Regions from separate parts of the Homo sapiens genome. Here region 1 is linked to region 2. The links are contacts of gene promoters, found by promoter capture Hi-C in blood cells and fetal thymus (Javierre and others, 2016). All regions are on one chromosome and are shown on one strand. Each heading gives the region's core, a stretch centred on a gene start or on the middle of the fragment in contact. The rest is flanking DNA. Distances are from core to core; before and after follow the strand shown.

What was found. Contacts are between HindIII fragments. The CHiCAGO score rates a contact against its expected background, and 5 or more counts as called.
Region 1: the fragment with the promoter of NXPE3 here is called in contact with a fragment that was not itself captured in region 2 in 1 of 17 cell types (non-activated CD4 T cells); the score reaches 6.3 in non-activated CD4 T cells.

What each region holds. Positions count from the first base shown.
Region 1 is chr3:101,777,882-101,780,850 of GRCh38, reverse strand. It overlaps NXPE3 (neurexophilin and PC-esterase domain family member 3), which reads right to left and starts at 1,640. Exons shown (of 8, transcript NM_145037.4): 1 at 1,527-1,640. RefSeq lists enhancers at 918-967, 1,532-1,826 and a silencer at 1,378-1,727. The HindIII fragment of the contact is 3,350 bases long and covers 201-2,969 here.
Region 2 is chr3:100,335,651-100,338,556 of GRCh38, reverse strand. All of the region lies in intron 1 of NIT2 (nitrilase family member 2), which reads right to left. Among named protein-coding and RNA genes, the nearest start is that of NIT2, 2.3 kb to the right of the region's middle. RefSeq lists a silencer at 2,778-2,906. The HindIII fragment of the contact is 2,566 bases long and covers 374-2,906 here.

The sequences.
Region 1 (2,969 bases), core at 391-2,890, 1.4 Mb before region 2:
TGCTGACTCATCTGGACCTTCCCTTGCCCTTCTTCCAAAGCAGGGCCCCATGTATTCATGGAGGTTACATAGCAAGTGGAGAAGTAATAAAATCAGTTATATAAGTCACACTGTACTAAGTGCTATTTTTTAAATATTGAACACATTGATAGGTTGTGGTCCTCAACCCTGCATGAACATTAATAATCATCGTGGAAGCTTTTTAAAATACAAACAACTGGGCCCCACTCAAACAATTAAATCAGAATCTGTAGGAATAGGCCCAAGAAGTAGCTTTTTTTAAAAAGGTCCCTAGATGATTACAACATACAGCCAAGTGGGAGAACCACTAGTATAGAGTGGCCAGGGACTGTTATTCGTTTCAGTTGGTAAAAGGATGGCCTTTCCAAAATGATGTTTGAATTGTAACTTAAATTGTCAGGTCAGGACAACCCAATTCCCAGGCAATGGGGAAGGCTAACCCCACTTCAGTGATTTATCCCTTCGTTTCCTTTCTCAGTAACAAATAACAGCACTCTATTGGCCCCAAAGAGATTGTGAGGATAACAGACATGGAAAAAAAAATACTAAACAAATTCAAAGAAAAGCAGAACCCAAACACTACGGAGAAATAGTATACTGCTGCCTCCAAACAATTATCAGGGTCTGGGAGTCCTGCCAGTTTCAAATATATCCTGATGTTCCAAATGATAATTAACCACAGTGAGGAGCGGGGAGGCCCACCAAAGCAGTGTGATTCTTTATCTTTAGGAAATGTGGCAACAATCCCCCTTTAATGTAAATAATGAAAAGCAAAGAAAATTTACAATTTTGCACAAATGCTGCATAAATCCTGCCTCGGAACCCCTCTTATTACCACCCTAGTGGCCTTTGATCAGGCAGAAATGGGCAACAGGCCAGGGTCTCCATATCACACCTTGTAAAGTTACACTCGTTTCTCCCCATACGACCTGAATCTGATGTCCCCAAACGGCAGCTCAGTAAGGCCAGAACAGTCCACCGTGTGACAGCAGCGCCAGCCAAGAGGCAGCTGGTGCCCAGAGCAGCGATGAGCCGAGAGATATGAGATGGGCAGGGAGGCGTCGCCAAGTGCTCCGCACCGGGTTAGTGAAGGTGCCTGGAGGACAGAAGTCTTTCGCTGCGGCGTGGAGGTCCGAACTGTACCGAGCTGTGGCGTTGCCGCAAGTGGAGGAAACTGAGGATGGAGATGCTCGCTCCCGGCCCCGCCCCGCCCCGCCCCGCCGGTACTAGCCTGGGCTCCGGCTTCTTAGCTGCGACGCTTTGGCAACCCAGGGCTCCAATTCTGCCTATGCCTTCGACCCGGGCCTCCCCTCCCTGGCACCTATGCCCACAGCCACGACTCCAGGGGCTGCACCTATCAGCACGGGGCTGGGGACTCGGGAGCAGATGCGCGCGGAGGGAGGGGCTTCGCAGTCTAGGAGCGCGCTGGCAGAGCCGGGCAATGGGTCGCTCCGCCCGCAGCGGCCCCTCCCGACGTCCGCACACAGACCACATCCAGCACTCACCTCCGGGACCCGCCCGCCCTTCGCTCTCCGGGGGCCAGGGATCCTGACGCCCCGGTCGGTCGCCGCAGCGCCAGGCCGCTAGCCCCCCGCTTCCTCACCCGGCGACGTCTCCTCACCTCCGACCCCCGGCTACGATTGGTGGAGCTTCGGCGGGGGCGGGCCGAGGGCGTTGACTGACAGCAGCACGCGCCGGGCGGAACCCACAGGCCTGGAAGCGAAGTTGGCACCCTGGCGCTCTACGCCGCCAAGCTCCTGCTCGCGACGCGACACTGCAGCTGTCGCCCCGCGGATCGAGGTCTGGCCCCTCTCACGACCCAACTCCTCGTGAACTTCGGACGTCTGAGTTTCCTGGGAGCATCCACCTACCTCAAGGCTTTTCGCTTGTCAGCGAAAGTGCCCACAACCGCAGTTGACTCTAGTAGGGCAGTCTTTCCTGTGGAGTGATGGAATTTATTGTGCCCTGAACCAGAGAAATGCGATTTGCCAAGTATAAGCACGGATATAGCGGATCCTTGAATCTTTTCCTTGCTTTGACATTAGTCAACAACTTCTACTCGCCAGTAAAACAGCCCGTTCCTTTTACTCTCACTGTACATGATGTCGGTCTCTTGGCAAAGCATACTTTCCTCACCCTCCACCATCCCCAATTCTGGGTTATCCTATTTTGGACATTTTTCTAACTGGTAAAACGTCGGTAGCAGTTTTGTGAAATTCAGGAACTGAGAGGAGTCCTGAGAAGACACTTGTTCAAGAAACCAGAAGGAATTGTGGGCTGCACCGTGTTTCTCTGTGCTTGGAGCACAGTGGGGTTAACACAGGCCCCAAAAGCAGGCCTGCCCCCGGACTATTACCCCAAGGTTTAAGAAAAATAATTAATGTACATGACAACTAAGTATTTTTCCATTTCTTGACCATAATGGACTCTGCATGCTCATTCAGATGTTTTCATGGCAGGCCTGCTTCGTGGGCAACCAGATCCGTGAATGGGATAAAAGGAAGTTCTGCCACAGGGTGGAAGATCTCTTCTGTAGTAATGATCTTCTTTTTTTTTTTTTTAATATACTTTAAGTTCTAGGGTACATGTGCACAACGTGCAGGTTTGTTACATATGTATACATGTGCCATGTTGGTATGCTGCACCCATTAACTCGTCATTTACATTAAGTATATCTCCTAATGCTATCCCTCCCCCCTCCCCCTACCCCACAACATGCCCAGGTGTGTGATGTTCCCCTTCCTGTGTCCAAGTGTTCATTTATGCAGCCAACAAACACATGAAAAAATGCTCATCAGCACTGGCCATCAGAGAAATGCAAATCAAAACCACAATGAGATACCATCTCACACCAGTTAGAATGGCGATCATTAAAAAGTCAGGAAACAACAGGTGGTGGAGAGGATGTGGAGAAGTAGGAACACGTTTACACTGTTGGTGGGACTGTA
Region 2 (2,906 bases), core at 407-2,906:
AGCTCATGGGAAGGGAAGATGTCTGTCTCAGTTTCCCCACTACTGGCTGGGTCACAGCACATCGATCCCGCTGCTGGCAGAGGGAAAACCTGGCAGCCAGTGAGCTGCACACATGCCTATTCACAGGACAGGGGTCCCAGGCACCTCTAAAAGTCTGCACTTACCCCATAAGTATTCATGTGTCCAAGAGAACATGATATTAAACAGCAAATAACACCATGAGAGGTTGAAAGAGATACTGCAGAAGGAAAAGCTAACAGCACTTTTCTCTTGCTATCTGAACAAGGGAACTGGGCCCCACAAATTATGTAGCCAGCCCTGACAAGGTCTGTGCTCAGCCCTGGAGCAAGGAGGTTGGGGGCTCTTCCAAGCTTATTTCTTCCTGGAGGTAGTAGCTATACATCATATTTGCTTTTCTTCTGTTCTTTAAAGTTCCCTTTTAGCTTTTATGATAATCACTTTCCATTAGCTAATATTTTTTATTTTGAGGCAGGGCCTTGTTCTGTCGCCTAGGCTGGAGTGCAGTGGCACAAACATGGTCCACTGCAGCCTTGACCTACTCAGTTCAGGCAATCCTCTTGTCTCAGCCTCTTATGTAGCTGGGACCACAGGTATGCACCACCATGCCGGGCTAATTTTTTAATTATGTAATTTTTTGTAGAGACAGGGTCTCACTTTGTTGCCCAGGCTGGTCTCGAACTCCTGGGCTCAAGCGATCCTCCTGCCTCAGCCTCTCAAACTGCTGCGATTATAAGCATGAGCCACCACGCCTGGCCAGATAATAATTTTTTATATAAAATTTTCCGCCGGGTGTGATGGCTCACGCCTGTAATCCCAGCACTTTGGGAGGCCAAGGCAGGTGATCACCTGAGGTCAGGAGTTTCAGACCAGCCTGGCCAACGTGGTGAAACCCCGTCTCTACTAAAAATACAAAAATTAGCCAGGTGTGGTGGTGGGCACCTGTAATCCCAGCTACTCAGGAGGCTGAGGCAGGAGAATCAGTTGAACCTGGGAGTTGGAGGTTACAGTGAGCCAAGATCGCGCCACTGCACTCCAGCCTGGACGACAGAGTGAGACTCAGTCTCCAAAAAAATAAATAAATAAATAAATAATTTTCCTTGTTCGAGTTACTAGTGTTGTTTCCATGTCCTGTCTGGACCCTGATGGATACATAGTTCCTGCTTATGGTCTGGTGGGACGCAGCAGTAAAGGATCCAAAGCACATTATAATCTATGAAGCTCTGCAAAACTTCAGGAATTATTAGTGTAGGGAAAAGAAAGAGCGATCAGATTATTACTGTGTCTGTGTAGAAAGAAGTAGACATAGGAGACTCCATTTTGTTCTGTACTACGAAAAATTCTTCTGCCTTGAGATGCTGTTAAACTATAACCTTACTCCCAACCCCGAGCTCTCTGAAACATGTGCTGTGTCCACTCAGGGTTAAATGGATTAAGGGCTGTGCAAGATGTGCTTTGTTACAGATGCATGAAGGCAGCATGCTCCTTAAGAGTCATCACCACTCCCTAATCTCAAGTACCCAGGGACACAAACACTGCGGAAGGCCGCAGGGACCTCTGCCTAGGAAAGCCAGGTATTCTCCAAGGTTTCTCCCCATGTGATAGTCTGAAATATGGCCTCGTGGGAAGGGAAAGACCTGACCGTCCCCCAGCCCGACACCCGTAAAGGGTCTGTGCTGAGGAGGATTAGTGCAAGAGGAAGGAACGCCTCTTTGCAGTTGAGACAAGAGGAAGGCAGGCATCTGTCTCCTGCCCGTCCCTGGGCAACGGAATGTCTCGGTATAAAACCCGATTCTATGTCCCATCTACTAAGATAGGGAAAACCGCCTTAGGGCTGGAAGGGGGACAGGCGGGCAGCAATACTGCTCTTTAAGACATTGAGATGTTTATGTGTATGCATATCTAAAGCACAGCACTTAATTCTTTACCTTGTTCATGATGCAGAGACCTTTGTTCACGTGTTTATCTGCTGACCTTCTCTCCACTATTATCCTATGACCCTGCCACATCCCCCTCTCCGAGAAACACCCAAGAATGATCATAAATACTAAGGGAACTCAGAGGCCGACGGGATCCTCCGTATGCCGAACGCTGGTCCCCTGGGCCCCCCTACTTCTTTCTCTATACTTTGTTTGTGTCTTTTTCTTTTCCAAGTCTCTCGTTCCACCTAACGAGAAACACCCACAGGTGTGGAGGGGCAACCCACCCCTTCAATTAGTAATGGCCTGCCCGAACTTCCCATCCCACCTCTGCTCCAGAGTCTGAAAATCCTACCATTAGAGAGCTATCTCTTTTGGGTGTTTCCTGTAACAACGCAAATGTCTCCAGAAAAGGCAACAATGACAAACCCTGGCCTCTGATGAAGGCCTGTTTGGCTCAGGGTTAACTAAAAGGAAAACTCAGATGTCCCATTCCTTGATCTATCCTAAATATAGTGAGAAGCACTAAATTTAACCCTGAAGGCAGCCTGCTAAATAGTTATAGAATCTGAAGGGAAACTAAAACAGGAAATAAAAGCTGGGATTATTCTGGGGCAAACAGATATTTTGAGCTGTTATCAGAACAGCAGATAAATCCACTAAACGTCTCCCCTCCATTTCCCAGCGTTAAGCCATTCTCCCTCCTCAGCTTCCCAAGTAGTTTGGGACTAAAGGGGCGTGCCACCACACCGGGCTAATTTTGTATTTTTTAGTACAGACAAGGTGTCGCCATGTTGCCCAGGCTGGTCTCCAACTCTTGACTCGTGAACTCAAGCGATCCTCGTGCCTCAGCTTCCCAAACTGTTGGGATTACAGGCGTGAGCCACGTGCCGGGCCATGTCTGTGCTTCCGAGGGTGGGAAAGATAAAGCTCACCATGGCTACGCTGATGGCTTCCTCTCCTACACAT